Linked DNA regions of Homo sapiens: regions 2 and 3 are each linked to region 1. The links are contacts of gene promoters, found by promoter capture Hi-C in blood cells and fetal thymus (Javierre and others, 2016). All regions are on one chromosome and are shown on one strand. The core of a region is centred on a gene start or on the middle of the fragment in contact, and the rest is flanking DNA. Distances in the headings are between cores, read along the strand shown. Region 1 holds the start of MDM1 (Mdm1 nuclear protein). Region 2 has its middle 85 kb from the start of CAND1. Region 3 overlaps CPM (carboxypeptidase M).

Region 1 (3,281 bases), core at 434-2,933:
AAGCCTGGGATGTGACTGAGTTATTTTTACAATCTGCTGTTTGGTTTTCCTGTCATTTACTCCCTGCTCAGCAGAGCTCTTCTGCAGTGATCATTGCGCTTGTTTAGCAGGCAGGCTACATTCTACACACTTGCTTTTGCTGATCTCACCTTAGCATTTTGTGGTAACAAAGCTGTGTGCACAACCAAAGTTGTGCCTTTCTTACTCTGTAAGATGGGCTGCCTTCCTGCAGATGACTTTTGTTCTATGTTCCACTGTGTCTTGTTTGTGCCATTCTTAATTTACACGACAGAGATGCTGTCATCACCAATTAACATTAATCAAGGGCCCCCTGGATGCATGGCTGCATTGGGACTAATTTAATATGCTCTTTGTTCCAGATATCAGGTGGCTTCTTCAAATGATTTTTAAGTATCTCGATGATGATGAAGAACAAAGACATCAATCAGGATTCAGGAAGACAGCTTTTGCGGAAAATGCTTAAAGGGAAGCATCAAGGATTGGTGTTGATATTTGAAAGTTTAAGAGTGGTATACTTTTATTCAGTCAACACATGACAAATGTAAAAGGCACTCATTTGTTGTTCCTGGAAGAAGCCTGGCAGCATTCCATTCAGACATCTGCCCTTTCATCGTCCCACTTTTTACTTATTGCAGTCCTTTCAGTCTGAATATTTCCTCCTGACGCATCTTCTGCCGTCCGAAATGACTCCCTGCTCCCAGATCCTGTAGCCCTTATTATTGACACCTTTCATTTAGAAATTTAGCACATGTCACATTACACCATTATTGAATAAATAATGAATAAATAAATAAATAAAGATGTATGTCCTTCCCAAGTATATCAGAGAACTATCTGGACAATTTCTTTCTTTCCCAATTCTCAGAATCAGCAGTATTCTGTCAAGAAACATTTATCGACGATGATGGCAATAGTCGATTAAAATCAGATGAAGTTTTATTTTTAAAAAAAGGTTGAGCGGAGAGACAAGGCTGAAGGTTTGGAAGTTGAGACAACCATCTTCAATAAACGTTTTCTCATCTAAGGGCTGTATGTACATCATTTTGGGGAAGGTAGAGATTGAAGGAGGAAGAACATCACTGGAGGAAGAGACAGCAGTTTGTCTTTCGAGTTTCAATAAAGTTTCAAAAATCTTGCCTAAGTTATATATTTTTTTGGCCTTTCCCTTTTGATGTGACAATAAACTGTAATGCGGCTGTCGTTTGTACGAACCGATATTCAGCAGAATAAATCTGAGCACTTTCAGAAAAAGAAGCGTTCGGTTTTCTCATAGATGTTAGCATGAAGAACACACTTTGACCTTTGATGCTGTCAAGCACCTGGGCCAGCGAGGCTGGCGGCTGGCGAATTCCACCAGCAAGCAGACGCATTGCTGCGCAGGACCCGGCGAACCAGGGACCGGTCCACCCAACCCAGGAAGGCACCCCCGGGGTCCCGCCCAGCCCGGTTCCGGGAGCCTTATTGGCCGGCCTTCCGCCCGCCATCTCTATCAGCCCCAGGGATTTGGCAAGGGAGGTAGGCGGCTCCCTTTCGGCCACTCATTGGTCAAATCCTAATGGAGGTAAGGCACTCTGCGAGTCTCTATTGGTCCCTAGGCTCCAAAAAGGGCGGGGAAAAACAGACCGACAGGCCTCTAGGCGGGAAGCGCGGAGTGCGCCGGCGCGTAGTCGGGGACGCCGGGCCGAGGCTTTGCTAGGGAACACTGTTATCGCCCCGCCCCCTCGGAGCTTTTTCTCCAGTTAACTGTCGGAGTAGCGGGGGCTCCGGCGCCGGGCGACATGCCGGTGCGCTTCAAGGTGAGGCTGGGGTCCCCGGGCCGGAATGTGGCTGGGGGGAGCCATGGCCGGGGAGGTGTGGAGCGCCGAGGTCACGCTGCTTTTCTGCGCTGCAGCCCTCTGCCCGGCGGAAGCTGCCAGCCCCAGGGCCTGCTCGAGGGGCCCCAGAATCTGCCCGCCGCCTCTTAACCTAGTTCCCTCTCCGCTCACTCACATTTGCAAGCTGCAGTGTGTCGAAGAGTCAGATGGTGCGAGACACATTTACTTAGGGGGACTCAAGAGGAGTGGAGATGGGAGGAGGTCCCTTTGCGAAGAGAACTAAAGGCGACTTCAGATTGGGACACCTGTGGCCCATTTAGCTTAGCATTTAACCCCCATTACCTTTAAAACTTTAGTGTATGTGGCTTTTAAAGGCTTGAGAAATGGGTTCTTAGTAAAGACAGCGTATAAAGAAATACACGTTTTTCATCGTTGTGCATTCTTAGCGTATGTTAAAAGTTCCAGGTAGCTGGTAGCTGTCAGGGACTAGCACCCTGCAACTTCACAGGTGGCCACAGCGTCCCACATCTCCTGACTCATTTATCTTAAAGGCGTGTATTCAGAATGGAAGGGGAGTTTGCCTTTTGTTGACTTTATCAAATAGCAAAAGGTCCTAGGCATGGTACATAATATTGTGTACTCGGTGAAAACCTGCGATAAATCTAGAATGATGAGAATTTAGATTGTCATTAGTTATCCGACAAGAACTCATGCTTTGGAATCAGATAATCAGTGAAAGGGTAACCTCTGAGCCTGGAATTCCTGGTAGCATCTGCCTCAAGTGGTGTTGTGGATTAAAGGATATAACACGTGTGAACTGCTTAGCACAGGGCTGGGTGAATATTAGCTCTTATTAAGGAGCTCGTCTGTGTTTAATTTTCAGTCTTAAGTCTCTTTTGGGAGGTTCAGAAATTATTTTTCACCGATGTCTGCTTTAAAACATCATTCATTAATTGGACTGTACTCAAAAGTGTACTTTGCATTACAGGGGCTGAGTGAATACCAGAGGAACTTCCTGTGGAAAAAGTCTTATTTGTCCGAGTCTTGTAATTCCTCCGTGGGGCGAAAGTACCCATGGGCTGGACTTAGATCAGATCAATTAGGTAAGTTGAGCAGGCTAATAGCCATTCTAACCTGGGCTAAGTTTATAACTTGGGCCAAGCCGTTATAACTTGGGCTAAGTAAACCTTGGGCTAAGTTTACCAAATGATATATTAAAAGTTCAGTTGGCCTGGTTGATTTATTCATTTATTAATCAAGTATTTATTGAAGGTTTACTATGAGCCAGGACTATTCCCAGCAGCTAGTGTGGCAGGCCAGGTTTCACTAATGGAGGCCTCCATCACAACTGTTTCGGTACTGACTGAGCGGTTAAGTTAAATATTGAAAGCTAAAAAAAGCCAGTGCCCTTACACAAAGGCTGGGATGTCACAAAAGCCCATCAAG
Region 2 (3,281 bases), core at 408-2,907, 980 kb after region 1:
AAAAAAAAAAGGGTGCTTAGTATTAAGGCTTCCAGTGAAGATAAATTTCTTCAATTCTCAAGAAAGGTAAAGACATTCTGCAGCCGCTGACAGTTCCATTTCAGATGAATTAGCATAATGTTGGGCAAACAGCAAACCTAAAAGGCAAATGTTCAAGACTCTAGCGTCAGTTATTTGCCAGCAAAAGATAACATCAAACATATGAGTAATGAGCCTTTAAAGTTGCCAGTCCCCAGGGAAGATTTGAGTTCTCATTAGTAAAGAGATATGAGATCCCATTTTGCCAGAGTCAATAGCACCGCATGAACACAGAGAGATACTAGAAGAATAATTTCCACACTTGGCTCTGAAAATAATCATCCTTATCTTTGCATTTTAAGTCTCAGAATTTGGCAAAAGAGTTCTAAGGATTTTAAAACATTAATAACAAGACTAAGAATGTTCCCAGATGAACTCTTATTTCTCAGACTATCTTGTTGGAGTTATTTACACATATGGCACAAACAAAGCCAAATGAATTGGAATATTTGACTTTCTCTCCACAAGATCTTACCAGTCTTTGTTTCTCAAGGTTTAGTTTGCATAAGGACAAAGGAATACAGTCGAATACTTAAAAGTATTATTTTAAAACACACTTTTATCTTGATAGTTATGTCTTTTCCATCAATATCTCTATTCACTATGTGAAAAAAAAAAGTCATACAACTTCAGAGTAGAAAGCATTTCAGTCCAACCACTTCACAGTCGCAAATCACAAGCTATTCACCCAGGAGGAAGAGCTGCTAAAGTCAATTCCCACTAAATTTCACCAGGGGCAGTTTAAACCTTCTGTTCTGTCTAGACATTTTGCCCTCCTCTGCCCAAACATCCTGACTTTTAAGGAGTTTTACAGCTTAGTCAACTCACCAACATCCTGAAGTAGGCTGAGATTGCAGATTTCTTTTCTGAATACCAATTATGCTTATTTATAAAACACAGAACATGGAGCAGAGAATTTAAGATTTTAGAGCTGCAAGTCACCTTCCTTTTATAATCCACAAAAGTGATTTGCTGTGATACCTGATGGCCTCTTTTGGAAAACAGAAGGCTTGAACACAGCATTGAAATGTGTCAGACTTTCTTTTTAAAATTTTTTCAGCTTCTTTTGAGGGTATATCCTGTAAAGCACTATGAGAAACATCCGAAAGACACAATTCTTATCCCCCAAAAGCCAATTATGTTGTCTGACTTCGGTTTCCTAAGCTACCCACAAACTGAAAGGCAAGGTATGGTGGTCAAAGAGTAAAGTCGACGTCTACACAGAAGCTTCCCTCTTTCCCTCAGCTCTGCCTCTTTCCAGTGCTGCTCATGTGATATGATACTTAGTCAAGCTTACTTTTTAAGTCAGCCACTTCGTGGGAACACTTTCCGGAGTGATGGCCAGCAGAATAGCTAAACTTTGTTACTGCCAAACCTCTTCTTGAGACAGGAACTCTGCCTACACAAAGCAAAAACAATATTTCAGCATCCCACCCTCCCTTTGAACCCACATTTGGAGTCATAGTTTCAGTTTTCATAACTATCCGGAAAACTGAAATGCTTCACTGGCCCACAACCAAACTCTTGGGCTCTTTTCAAGTCTGCCATCTCCCCCTTTTCATTCCACTTCCTCCCTCACTGTGAAACCTTGCTTGCTTGGACACTCCTGTAGTTTTAGACACCTTCCTGTCGATCTTTGAGCTATTTACCAGCTGAACATTTGTATTGTTAGTGTTAAATGATAAATTCATATAGCTAAGACACTTGACCAAGATAGACCGATACTATCATTTGAGCAACTGTCTCCTGCAATCTGTCATCACAATGAGATAGCCATGTTCTAACCTATCAGTAAGATTATACAAAAGTAAACAGAGTTGTCGGTATAAAATTGATTGTCAGCCGGGCACAGTGGCTCAAGCTTGTAATCCCAGCACTTTGGGAGGCCGAGGTGGGTGGATCACAAGGTCAGAAGTTTGAGACCAGCCTGGCCAAGACAGTGAAATGCCGCCTCTTCTAAAGATACAAAAATTAGCTGGGCATGGTGGCAGGTGCCTGTAATTCCAGCTACTTGGGAAGCTGAGGCAGGAGAATCTCTTGAACCTGGGAGGTGGAGGTTGCAGTGAGCCAAGATCGCGCCACTGCACTCCACAGAGCTAGACTCCATCTTGAAAAAAAAAAAATGCCACTGAGAGGTCATCTTTTATGAAATTCAAAAGTTTCAGAAATGTATCTAAATTGTCACCAATCCTTTCCCTGTAGTGTTCACCAGCCTCTGATCAGTTGATTTTAGGCAAATTTCTCACCTTCCACACTTGCAACACAAACTCAACTTCCAGCATACAGAGCTACTTGAAGGTTTCCCTAAATACACTAGGCACCCTCAGTCACTACACTACATATATGCTCTTGCTTTTTTGCCCAATGCCTGCCTTTTGACAGTCTGAGTAATGCCTACTTGTTTTCAAACTTCAGCTCAGGAGCTGCCTTCGCTTGTCTCATCCAAGCAGTCTGCAGCCCCTTGCTTTTATGCTCCTACAAGACCCTATTTATAACTCCATCACAGTGCCCATCATATGCTGGTAAAATGGTTTGTTTTCCCCTCTCACCTGCCATAGGTTCATTCTGAAAAAAGATTAAGAGTTTGACTCTGCAACCCCAGCACCCCAGGCTGTATCTAACACGTGGTAGGCAAACTGCAAATGTTTGCCAGATGGATGACCATTCCTGATGGCCAAGACATTAAGAAAGGGGCTGTTTTCCAGTGGTCCATAGCACTATGGACAGCTAAGATGACTGCCTCACCAGTTCAGAAGAAGAATAAGACATGCTCTCACTTACTTTCCTCCCTCCCCTTGTAACATGTATCTGGCGTTCTAGACAGCCCCATTTCCCCATCAGCCAAAGTTTTGGACCTATCAAGAATAAATCTTTAATTGAAGTCTATTAGTCTGTTCTCACACTGCTATACCTGATACTGGGTAATTTATGAAGAAAAGAGGTTTAATTGACTCACAGTTCCACAGGCTATACAGGAAGCATGAGGCTAGAAGGCCTCAGGAAACTTACAATCACGGCAGATGACTAAGGGAAAGCAAGCACATCTTACCATGATGAATCAGGAAAGAAAAAGAAGAGGGAGGTGCCACATGCTTTTAAACGATCAGATCTCATGAGAACTCACTCACTACCAGGAGAACAGCAAGAAGGAAACCTGCCCCCATGATCCAGTGACCTCCCACCAGTCCCCTCCTCCAATTCAA
Region 3 (3,281 bases), core at 580-3,079, 520 kb before region 1:
CAATTATGAAATCTGGTAATTTGTGCAGCAGCAATAGATGATAACCAAAAAAAACTCATAATAATCTGAATATCTTGATCATTTGTATTTAAAGAAGCAGTAATTATATACTTGAAAGTACATAATATAGTATTGCAAAAATGACTTTGGTATATTACAAATTAAAAGTATATAAGATGAAACTTGATTTGCTATCAAGCCCCAAGCAATTTTTCAACTGGGCATTGAATTCTAACTTTTCTAAGATAGCAATTTTTGAAGAGACACGAACAAAAATCTGAATTAGTTCATGAGCCTTAATGTAAATCTCTTGCTGAAATAGTTTTTAAAATCAGAATTTAGTTATCTATCAGACTCAAAATCATTTAAAGACTAACAAAACACAATCATGATATTCTAACTGTGGTCAAACCAGGTACCCAAGCCACCTCCCTGCCCAACGCCTTTCCGGCTTTTCCCCTCCCTCTTGGGCTGGTGGTTATGCTCCTCCAGCTCTAGTTCAGCTATAATTCCTTTTATAGAGAAACCAACCTGATACACACTTTCATGATGGGAGAAAAATGTGGGAGTGAAATGGTATTTAGAAAGCAGCAGTCAGGCACGGTGGCTCATGCCTGTAATCCCAGCACTTTGGGAGGCTGAGGCAGGCGGATCACTTGAGGTCAGGAGCTCGAGACCAGCCTGGCCAACACGGTGAAACCCCATCTCTACTAAAAAAAAATACAAAAATTAGCCGGGCGTGGTGGCAGGCACCTGTAATCCCAGCTACTTGGGAGGCTGAGGCAGGAGAAATCGCCTGAACCCAGAAGGCAGAGGTTGCAGTGAGCCAAGATCACATCACTGCACTGCACTCCAGCCGGGGTGACAGAGCGAACCTCTGTCTCAAAAAAAAAAAAAGAAAAAAGAAAGAAAGAAAAAAGGCAGAAGCCCTGGATTCAAATCCGCCACACATTCAGTTTCTTTATCTGTAAAATGGAGACCACCCCCCGCCACGCTGAACGGTGATTCTGTGACTGGTAAGAGATGCTACATTTTTGGTGCTTGTTCAGGTGGAGGAAAGATGATAGTTAACACTCAGGTAATAAGTATTTTGAAGGCAGTATAATATACCTTCTTAAAGAGTATACCTACTCAAATGTTGGTAAATGTTGACATGATTGAATCTAAATGGCAAAGAGTATTTTAGAAAAACATTAAGTCCCTGCAGATAAATGACAGTGTTGATTTGGATGCTTAATTACATTCAGACATGAACTGTTGGATGTATCTGAAATGTTAAAAGCTTTTTCTCAACATTTCCAAAAGTCTTTCCAAGAAATCAATGTTATGTTTTGTTCCAGAAGCAAATTTGCATTTGTGATCTGTTTCTAAAAATGGTACAAGTTAGCTCTGTTTAGAAAGTAAAAATATCTGATGTTAGATTGGAAGTATCTCTTCCTGGGGAATCCAGAAAGATAAGCATAGCATATTGTCTTACTGCAATAGATAAGTTGCTTATTGAGAAGTCTGGTTGTTATTCTATATGGTAACAATACAGTTGATGTATATTTTATGATAGATCCTTTATATTTTCCTCATGACTTTAGAAGGGGGAAGGGGGAGAAAATTATGATGACCAGACTAGTTAAAGAGCATTGAAAGTCCACAGTACTGTAGCTAAAGTAGAAGTTTGGGTTTGTTATAGACTTTACATTATATCAACTAATAAGCAGATACTGTACAGTATTGCTCACCATTTTATCATACTTTTGCATATGAACTACTCCATTGCCTTTTATAGATGTTTTATAGCTGATCTTACCAGTTTTCCTGGTAACTTTTTTTATTTCTTTTTTTTTTTTTTGAGACGGAGTCTCGCCCTAACACCCAGGTTGGAGTGCAGTGCCGTGATCTCGGCTCACTGCAACCTCTGCCTCCCGGGTTCAAGCAATTCTCCTGTCTCAGCCTCCCGAGTACCTGGGACTACCGGTGCCTGTCTCCACGCCCGGCTAATTTTTTGTATTTGTAGTAGAGACGGGGTTTCACCGTGTTAGCCAGGATGGTCTCGATCTCCTGACCTCATGATCTGCCTGCCTCTGCCTGGACCTCCCAAAGTGCTGGGATTACAGGCGTGAGCCCCCGCGCCCAGCCACTTTCTTTAATACTATAACTAAGAATTTATTAAAATGCACAAATTGTCTAAGACTGTAAAGTTTATTGGGGAGAGGCCATGACTACCTCTGAATTTAGTAAATTTAAAATATTTCTGATTCTCAATAAAGAACTAATATCCATATAAATAATGCTTTTTTCCCATTATGTTACCTGAAAATAAGTACTTATGCAAGTATAACAAAGTCCACTAAAAATAACTGATTACCACCAAATAAAGCTTGGGAAAGACCAAACTTAATGACCTTTTATGAGGCAATAACATTGCAACAACTCTTCAAAGTCCAGATAGTTCTTCCAGAACAAGTTACATATGCTATATGTTATATATATTATATATAATACATTCCAAATTAATTTGTGTTGTGGGGCAGTGTGTTCCATGGACAAGATGATGGATGGAAAGTATGCCTTCTGGTCAGAAAAAATATTTGAAAATTCACAATTTATATTAATGTAATAAAGAATCTGAGAAATGCAGAAAAGAAATGGATTTCCCAAACATGCTAAGCTATGGGACCATTTCCTTAAATAATACAGCCTCGTACCATCCCTTTGGATTAACATACCTATATTTCCAAACACATTTTGGGAAATACTGATATATAGAGAAGGCTTTTGTTCTGAATAACAAATTTTATTGATTTCCAGGTGCTTTTGAAATACAGAGAACAGTGGTAAACAAAGAATTTGCCTCCAGTAGGAACTGGAAAACTAACAGTCCTAACCCCTGCTAATATCGACTTAGTCATAGGACAGAGGATGGGCTCAAGCTTACATCTGCTCTTTGAAACACGCTAAACAAATAATAGTTTAAATGAGACATTGCTGAGTAGGAAATGGCTAAATTACAGGTACCAATTTTTAAAAAGTGACGTCTCAATTTAGAAAATAAACAGGAAATAGTTTCTCTGTTTTCAAGAGAATTTCATTACATAGAAGCCTCTTAAGCAGAAGTTCCCTGGTATATTTACCTAGACTTCAACGTTTAAATTTGCAGCTTTTTTTTTTTTTTTTGGGACGAAGTCTCGCTCTGTCACCCAGGCTGGAGTGCAGTGGTGGGATCTCGGCTCACTGCAACCTCCACCTCCCAGGTTCAAGTAATTCTCATGCCTCAGCCTCTCGAGCAG

The links. Contacts are between HindIII fragments. The CHiCAGO score rates a contact against its expected background, and 5 or more counts as called.
Region 2: a fragment that was not itself captured here is called in contact with the fragment with the promoter of MDM1 in region 1 in 3 of 17 cell types (total CD4 T cells, naive B cells and total B cells); the score reaches 5.5 in total CD4 T cells.
Region 3: a fragment that was not itself captured here is called in contact with the fragment with the promoter of MDM1 in region 1 in 1 of 17 cell types (megakaryocytes); the score reaches 5.4 in megakaryocytes.

Annotation. Positions count from the first base shown.
Region 1 is chr12:68,330,764-68,334,044 of GRCh38, reverse strand. It overlaps MDM1 (Mdm1 nuclear protein), which reads left to right and starts at 1,683. Exons shown (of 15, transcript NM_001354969.2): 1 at 1,683-1,817; 2 at 2,824-2,938. The coding sequence starts at 1,800. LOC105369819 (a long non-coding RNA gene) reads right to left here and starts at 1,414. Exons shown (of 3, transcript XR_945057.3): 1 at 1-1,414. RefSeq lists a silencer at 1,483-1,742 and an enhancer at 2,043-2,132. The HindIII fragment of the contact is 10,890 bases long and covers 1-3,281 here.
Region 2 is chr12:67,352,706-67,355,986 of GRCh38, reverse strand. No RefSeq gene overlaps it. Among named protein-coding and RNA genes, the nearest start is that of CAND1, 85 kb to the right of the region's middle. The HindIII fragment of the contact is 569 bases long and covers 1,373-1,941 here.
Region 3 is chr12:68,850,173-68,853,453 of GRCh38, reverse strand. CPM (carboxypeptidase M) reads left to right here. Exons shown (of 9, transcript NM_198320.5): 9 at 1-2,279. It also overlaps a transcript of MDM2 not described here. Among named protein-coding and RNA genes, the nearest start is that of MDM2, 44 kb to the right of the region's middle. The HindIII fragment of the contact is 1,089 bases long and covers 1,285-2,373 here.